2 separate regions of the Homo sapiens genome follow, and region 2 is linked to region 1. The links are contacts of gene promoters, found by promoter capture Hi-C in human tissues and cell types (Jung and others, 2019). All regions are on one chromosome and are shown on one strand. The core of a region is centred on a gene start or on the middle of the fragment in contact, and the rest is flanking DNA. Distances in the headings are between cores, read along the strand shown. Region 1 holds the start of FDPS (farnesyl diphosphate synthase). Region 2 overlaps ARHGEF2 (Rho/Rac guanine nucleotide exchange factor 2).

Region 1 (4,246 bases), core at 1,185-3,684:
GTGGGGATGGAGACAGGAGCGAGGCCAGTCAGGTTTAATAAAGGAAGTCGGGGGGCACTGACAGAACTGTGCTCAGCACACAGAGGGACACCAGGAGAGACAGAGCATTGTGAGTGAGGGCAGAAGGAGGTCAGGGCAGCTTAACAGACGAGGTGCCCCCTGGTCAGACACATACACACACGTAAACATACACAAAGCTCCCCACCATTCCACACACACACACAAATACGTACTCCACTCTAACACTCACACAATATCCACACTCACACATGCAGATTTATGTATCCGGAATTGGTGGGTTCTTGGTCTCACTGACTTCAAGAATGAAGCCGCGGACCCTCGCAGTGAGTGTTACAGTTCTTAAAGGTGGTGTGTCCGGAGTTTGTTCCTTCTGATGTTCAGATGTGTTCGGAGTTTTTTCCTTCTGGTGGGTTCGTGGTCTTGCTGGCTCATGAGTGAAGCTGCAGACCTTCGCGGTGAGTGTTACAGCTGTTAAGGCCGCGCATCTGGAGTTGTTCATTCCTCCTGTTTCATTCCTCCCGGAGCGATCTCGGTTCACCACAACCTCTGCCTCCCGGGTTCAAGCGATTCTCCTGCCTCAGCTTCTCGAGTAGCTGGCACTACAGGTGTGCGCCACCATGCTGGGCTAATTTTGGATTTTTTAGTAGAGATGGGGTTTCACTATGTTGGCCAGGCTGGTCTTGAACTCCTGACCTCGTGATCCGCCCACCTTGGCCTCCCAAAGCTCTGGGATTACAGGCGTGAGCCACTGCACCCAGCCGTGTTTTGTCCAATTCTTTGTTCAAGATGCCAAGAACCTGGACACCCTCCACCGGTGACAGTACCTTATATACACGGAATCATACAGTATCTGTCCTTTTGAGTCTGGCTTATTTCACTTAGCATAATTGTCAGAGGTGCGTGAACCAGAGCAACTCCATCTTGAATAGGGACTGGGTAGAATAAGGCTGAGACCTACTGGACTGCATTTCCAGTTGGTTTAGGCATTCTAAGTCACAGGATGAGATAGGAGATTGGCTCAAGATACAGGTCATAAAGACCTTGCTGATAAAACAGATTGCAGTAAAGAAACTGGCCAAAACCTACCAAAACCAAGATGGCAACAAGAGTGACCTCTGGTGGTCTTCAACGCTATACTCCTACCACATGCTGTGTCGACATCAGGGAGTTAACTGTATATGGTCTACAAAGCAGAGGCATGAATAATCCAACCCTTGTTTAGCTTATAATCAATAAATAACTGCCTGGGCCAAGTGGCTCGTACTTGTAATCCCAGCACTTTCAGAGGTCGAGGTGGCTGGATCACTTGAGGTCAGGAGTTCGAGACCAGGCTGGCCAATCTGGAGAAACCCCCTCTCTACTAAAAACACAAAAATTAGCTGGGCATGCTGGCAGGCACCTGTAATCCAGGAGAATCACTTGAACCCGGGAAGCGAGGTTGCAGCCTCCCACGTAGCTGGAATTAAGGCGCGGACCAGCACACCTGGGTAATTTTTGTATTTTTAGTAGAGAAGGGGTTTTGCCATGTTGACCAGGCTGGTCTCAGATTCCTGACCGCAGGTGATCCGCCCAAAGTGCTGGAATTACAAGTGTGAGACTCATCTTTTTTTTTTTTTTTTTTTGAGACGGAGTCTTGCTCTGTCTCCCCAGCTAGAGTGCAGTGGTTCGCTGGATCTCAGCTCACTGCAACCTCTGCCTTACGAGTTCAAGCGATTCTCCCGCCTCAGCCCTCCTGAGTGGCTGGGATTACAGGCGCGCGCCACCACGCCCGACTAATTTTTTTTTTTTGTATTTTTAGTAGAGACGGGGTTTCACCACATTGGTCAGGCTGGTCTCGAACTCCTGACCTCATGATCCACCCGCCTCGGCCTCCCAAAGTGCTGGGATTACAGGCGTGAGCCACCGTGCCCGGCCCAAGACTCATCTTTCTTAAGCCCTTAAAGCACTTTGCACACATTACCTCATGGTATTACCACCCTCATTCAACAGATGAGGAAAGCTAGTTTCAAGCAAGTTCACTGAGGATCAGAGACGTTAAATGATTTGCCTAAAGTTAGAGAACTAATAAGTGAGAAAGCTAGTCCTGCTGCGTTTTACTAACGTGCCAATCAGCTGCCCAGGAAGATAATGAAAACTTGAGTAAGACAGGCAGCCAAAGCCACAGCGGGGACGTTCCCAGCCTGGCTCGCTTCCGGCACTGACGCCTCCAGCCGCGACCTCTAGACTTCAGCCCTTCCATTGGTCGTCCGTCACAGTGCCACAGTGCGCCATGCTCACACGACGGCCAGCAGCCAATCAGCGCGGCTCATCTTCGCCCAGCCAGGACACGCAGGATCGCGTTATCTGTCCCTCCCGCGGGCACATTGGGAGTTGTAGTCTAATTATATATTTCCGCCCTTAGTGTGGGGAGAGCGGGAACTACTCGACCCACAGAGCCGATCGCGGAGCGGATTCTGCTTTTAGGAGTACCCGCCAACAAGCGGGACCGAGCAGGAATCCGTATCTGGGAACAGGTGAGAGAGGATGTGTGCTGGGCCTTGGAGGAAGGGGGCCGAGACCGGGCCTTACTTCTGTAACGATACTGTGAGGCATCGGAAGGCCAGCCTGTTGTGTCCGTTTTGAAGGTCGGTGGGCTAGACTGGCTGGCCTTCTAGGGGTGTGGAGACTTCCCAACTCTGCCCTTGTGCTTTCCTGGAATCCCCAATATGCCCGGACCCCGGTTTACTCCTTTGCTGCGAGCCCTTCTCTCCCGTCCAGAGTTGCTCCGAGCCTATCTGCTCAGTCCTAGCGATTCCTGTGGGGCTTGGGACGCGCGGTTCAAGCACCCCGGACCATATGGATGCAGCACCCATGGGTTCTCGCTCCAATGCTTCTTTCCTCCTTGGGGCGTAACTCAGACCCTGGGCACCCCTCTCCACTGCCCAGGGGAGACCTGGGTTCTAGATTTGGCTCTGCCTCTACTATCTTCCTACCTCCTAGAGCCTCAGTTTGGCTTGTGTAAAATAGGATGACTTAAGGGTCCTTTCAGCCCCTAATCCTGGGGTACTTTACTCTGTACCGCCTCCTTACCCAGCCTTGTGCACGCCATCTTGAAGGCACTGAGTTCTAGCCTGTTTATTGTAAGTGGTGATTAGTTGGGTCTCAGTCACCCAGCCATACTTTTTTGTTCCCTGCGTATCCTTCCTGTAATTGTCCCCAAGCACATTCCACAAGAGGGAGGGGCACTCTGGGCTAAGGCTGGGGTGGGAGTTATCTGGGGAGCTGCCACCATGCCTCTGCCTTTGGTGCTTGCCCCTGCAGGGAGTGCTTAGTGCCCCCTCCCTATGCCACTCCCAGGATGCCCCTGTCCCGCTGGTTGAGATCTGTGGGGGTCTTCCTGCTGCCAGCCCCCTACTGGGCACCCCGGGAGAGGTGGCTGGGTTCCCTACGGCGGCCCTCCCTGGTGCACGGGTACCCAGTCCTGGCCTGGCACAGTGCCCGCTGCTGGTGCCAAGCGTGGACAGAGGAACCTCGGTGAGTGTGGTTGGGGTGAGGGGCCTTGGGGAGGGGAGCAGCTGATCAGGTTTCTGACTTGTTTTTCTTCTACTTAGAGCCCTTTGCTCCTCCCTCAGAATGAACGGAGACCAGAATTCAGATGTTTATGCCCAAGAAAAGCAGGATTTCGTTCAGCACTTCTCCCAGATCGTTAGGGTGCTGACTGAGGATGAGATGGGGCACCCAGAGATAGGAGATGCTATTGCCCGGCTCAAGGAGGTGAGGGATTCATGACTTGGGGGAGTAAGGCTTTGGTTCAGTTGCTCTGTACCTGTGTGGCATTCACCTGTGGCTTATGGGGGACTTTTGACAGATGTGAGAGAAAGCTTTTTTTTTTTTTTTGAGACAGAGCCTTGCTCTGTCACCTGGGCTGGAGTGCGATGGTGTGATCTCGGCTTGCTGCAACCTCCACCTCCTGGGTTCAAGTGATTCTCCTGCCTCAGCCTTCTGAGTAGCTGGGATTACAGGTGCGTGCCACCACATCCAGCAAACTTTTGTATTTTTAATAGAGACGGGGTTTCACTGTGTTGACCAGGCTGGTCTCGAACTCCTGACCTCAGGTGATCCACCCACCTCGGCCTCCCAAAGTGCTGGGATTACAGGTGTGAGCCACCGCGCCTGGCCGAGAAAGCTTTTACCTGAGGGACTCGAGTCTGCTCTGGAGAGGTTGGGGCCTGGGCAAGTATACTTA
Region 2 (4,166 bases), core at 103-2,602, 640 kb after region 1:
TTCTAGCTGAGGGCCTGAGCCCCCTTCTCCTGATCTGACCCCACAGGCTCCAACAGGGATGTGAATTCATACCAGCATTTATACAACCCTAGACTCTCACCTCCTCCCCTCCCCCACAGCCCCAAAGTAAGTACCAACTGGGAACAGGAAGTAAAACCAACTAAAACCAAGAACTGAAACCAGCTCATCTCTCACTGCCTCTCAAAGAGGGACAGTAAATGAGCAGCTCCTGTGACGGGTAACCCCAGGGCCCGACATCATGGAGATCAACAAGGGCCTAGTGGGGGATGGATCTGACAATGAATGACACTGGGGATGGGGGCAATAGGTGGAGGTGATTGCTGAGCATGGCATACAAATACGATGAACACACTTTTCCTGATACCGGAATTCCCAACATTGGAACCTGTGTGCCCCTTTGTTTTTATCCTTGTATTTGTGAATTAAAAAAACAAAAAAAAGATTTGCAGTGGTTACTTTTGTTAGTGCCCCCTCTCTTCAGTGAGGCAGAGGCTGTCCTTGCGGTGAGAGGAAAAGGCCCCTTTCAGAGGAACTTAGGTCACTGCCCGGCTCTCTACTACCATCCTCCTCAGAATTGGCAGACATTATGGAAGACAGTACCTTATGGAGTTCCAGGTTTTTAATTTTCCCTGAATTTTTTTTTTAAACAACAAAATTGGCAAGAAGAAAATTCTTCGACATTTGGGGGCTGGTCGACATTTGGGGGCAAGGGTTCCACTGAAAAATCCCCCAAATTCACGCTGAGGTTTCAGGTCATGGTTGCTGAGGTGGAAGATGAGGTCAGGGCTCTTGGAGATTTTCCAACCCACCCTAGAACTTGTTTCTAAATGGCTGGGGAAGAGGTCAGTATAGGTCCCCCCGTTACTGCAGATGAAGGCAGAAGTCATTCTCTCCCCCACCCCTCAACTTCTTCAGAGATGTGGAGATAGGAGGCTTCGATCTCTAATTGCCTACGATCTCTTAAAAATATAAAACACGTGCAGTTGACTTTGGTACAAAAAAGAAAACAAAAGAACAACAAAACATTCTGGTCCCTGTGGGTTTTTTCCCTCACCCCCAACAAACCATTATGGCCACCCCAACCTTTATTCCATCAACTCCAGGAAGCCAGGTTATCTCCCAGGGCTTCCATGAAGGACGGAGAAAGGGAGAACAGCAGTAAGAGGTTGAGGGGAGAGGAGAAAGGGACATGGCCCTGCCCACAGCCCTCCTTTATTTAAAGGGCAGTAGGGTGCTGTGGCTGCAGCCTCTCCTCCAAGACGGATGTTGCAGGGGAGGGCCGTTAGGGCAAGAACCCAGCAGCTGCGTGGATGAGCCTGAATATACCCCAGTAGTGTTCAAGGACAAGGCCCTCTGATCCCTATGGCTTGGTTCCCATGTCCCTGGTCCTTTAAATCTCCCCTCTCCCCCCATAACTAATAAACAATAAATAAATAAATTTTCCTAAAGTTGCGGGAAGAAGGCATGAACCACTGGCATCTGTGGTGTAGCTTTCGGATGTCCCAGGGGGTGTTGTGGCCTAATTCCCCTAGCTTCTTAAATGGCCCCAGGTATCCAAGGATCCCAAGAGCTGGCAAGGACAATTTGCAGTTCTTTCAAATGTTCCCTCATCATTGGCAAATTGGAGTCCCCAAGGTTAGCCCCCTCAGTAATGTTCTTCAGTGGGGCACGGGGCAGGGGGGAGGGGCCCCCTTAGCTCTCGGAGGCTACAGCCTCCCCGTCGCGGCTCTCCGTCTCCTCCGGGATGTCCTGCATTCTGGTAAAGTCTGAAGGGGGACAGGACAAAGCCAGTGAGTTAGCAGAGACTCCCATGAGGAACTGTACCCCTAGACTAATGCCTCCCCATCTGCAGGCTCAGGGGGCTCTGGGGCTGTGAAGGGATGACAGGGTTCTGTAAATTCTTGGGTGAGAGGAAAACCTTTGGCAACAAAGTAAGCAAGGTATCCATACCTAGGTACCGGATACACTTTTACAGTATCCAAAGATACAATTTGATTAGGAAAATACAAAATACTTTAAGGTTAAAGCTTTTGGTAATTTTTTATTTCATGAACCAACTGTAAAAACTTGAAGTTCTTTGAAACTTTTTTTACTTTAAAAACTGGCCCCATGGCTCGTGCTTATAATCCTAACACTTTGGGAGGCTAAGGTGGGAGAATCACTTAAGGCCAGGAGTTGGAGACCAGCCTGGCCAACATGGTGAAACCCCATCTCTACTAAAAATGCCAAAAATTAGCTATATGTGGTGGCATGCGCCTGTAATCCCAGCTACTCGGGAGGCTGAGGAACAAGAATTGCTTGAACTTGGGAGGTGGAAGTTGCAGTGAGCTGAGATTGTGCCACTACACTCCAGCCTGGGTGACAGAGCAAAACTGTCTCAAAAAAAACAAAACAAAACAAAACAAAAAACTATACCTTCCCAGGCACAGTGGTATGTACCTGTAGCCCCAGCTACTTGGGAGGATCACTTAAGCCCAGGAGTTTGAGTCCAGCCTCGGCAACAGCACAAGACCCTCTCTCTAACATAAAAAATTTTAGAGTGAGATCCTCTGTCTGGGTCTCCGGGTCTCTTTCTGTCGCCCAGGCTGGAGCAATCACGGAGTACTGTCAACTCAACCTGCTGGGCTCAAGTGATCCTCTCACCTCACTCTCACTCTCCGTAGCTAGGACTACAGGCTCACTCCACCACACCTGGCTAATTAAAAAAATTTTGGGGGACCAGGCACGGTGGCTCACACCTGTAATCCCAGCACTTTGGGAGGCCAATGTGGGTGAATCACCTGAGGCCAGGAGTTCGAGACCAGCCTGGCCAACATGGTGAAACCCCATCTCTACTAAAAAATACAAAAAAAATTAGCCAGGTGTGGTAGTGCATGCCTGTAAATCCCAGCTACTCGAGAGGCTGAGGCAGGAGAATCACTTGAACTCAGGAGGTGGAGGTTGCAGTGAGCTGAGATTGTGCCACTGCACTCCAGCCTGGGTGACAGAGTGAGACTCCATCTTAAATAAATAAATAAATAAAATAAAATAAAATAAAATAAAATAAAATAGACCGGGTGCAGTGGCTCACATCTGTAATCCCAGCACTTTGGGAGGCCAAGGCAGGCGGATCATGAGGTCAAGAGATTGAGACCAGACTGGGCAACATGGTGAAACCCTATCTCTTCTAAAAATACAAAAATTAGCTGGGCGTGGAGGCATGTGCCTGTAGTCCCAGCTACTCGGGAGTCTGAGGCAGGAGAATCACTTGGACCTGGGAGGCGGAGGTTGCAGTAAGCGGAGATCTCACTACTGTACTCCAGCCTGGCGACAGAGTGAGAATTCCATCTCAAAAAAAAAAAAAATTTAGCCAGGCGTGGTGGCTCATGCCTGTAATCCCGACACTCTGGGAGGCCAAGACAGGTGGATCGCGAGGTCAGCCGTTCAAGACCAACCTGGCCAACATAGTGAAACCCCATTTCTACTAAAAATACAAAAATTAGCTGGGCGTGGCGGTGGGCGCCTGTAATCCTAGCTACTTGGGAGGCTGAGGCAGGAGAATCGCTTGAACCTGGAAGGCAGAGGTTGCAGTGAGCCAAGATCACGCCACTGCACTCCAGCCCAGGCAACAGTGCAAGACTCCATCTCAAAAAATAATAATGAAATAAATTAATTAAATAAAATAAAAAAATAAATAAATGAATTTTTTTTTGTAGAGAAGGTGGGTCTCACTATGTTGCCCAGGCTGGCCTCAAAATTCTGAGCTCAAGCGATCCTCCTGCCTTGGCCTCCCAAAGTGTTAGGATTACAGGCCTGAGCCGCCATGCCTTTTTAAAAAAGAATCTGTTTTTACTTCTAAAGGTTGGGAATCACCAACCAGTTGGAGGAGAGAGGCCCCTCCTGCTTCCTAGACTTCCACCACCCATTCATCATCAGACAAAACAGGAAGTCCCTCCCTAGAGTTACTACAAGCCTCACAGGTCAGTTAGGGCCCATTTGGAAGCCACAGCCCAATGGCCTGTACCCAGGCTGCACTCTACCTCTGGTCCATGTCTCCGCCAGGGTCTCACCTCGTGGACTGTGGGGCGGAGACAGACGGCTGCTACCTTCCTCCTCGCTGCCAGTGTCAGGGTCACTGCTGTCTTGCAGCCGCTCTTCGGGGCTCC

The links. The method cuts DNA at HindIII sites, captures the fragments that hold promoters and counts their contacts. A contact is called where the count stands out against the background at its distance.
Region 2: a fragment that was not itself captured here is called in contact with the fragment with the promoter of FDPS in region 1 in 1 of the 25 tissues and cell types used here (dorsolateral prefrontal cortex).

What each region holds. Positions count from the first base shown.
Region 1 is chr1:155,306,432-155,310,677 of GRCh38, forward strand. FDPS (farnesyl diphosphate synthase) reads left to right here and starts at 2,435. Exons shown (of 11, transcript NM_002004.4): 1 at 2,435-2,534; 2 at 3,358-3,534; 3 at 3,612-3,774. The coding sequence starts at 3,359. It also overlaps a transcript of PKLR not described here. RefSeq lists enhancers at 1-68, 1,193-1,262, 2,165-2,294, 2,625-2,794. The HindIII fragment of the contact is 6,116 bases long and covers 1-4,033 here.
Region 2 is chr1:155,946,229-155,950,394 of GRCh38, forward strand. It overlaps ARHGEF2 (Rho/Rac guanine nucleotide exchange factor 2), which reads right to left. Exons shown (of 22, transcript NM_001162383.2): 21 at 4,071-4,166; 22 at 626-1,787. The coding sequence ends at 1,714. Among named protein-coding and RNA genes, the nearest start is that of MIR6738, 3.0 kb to the right of the region's middle. The HindIII fragment of the contact is 6,087 bases long and covers 1-4,166 here.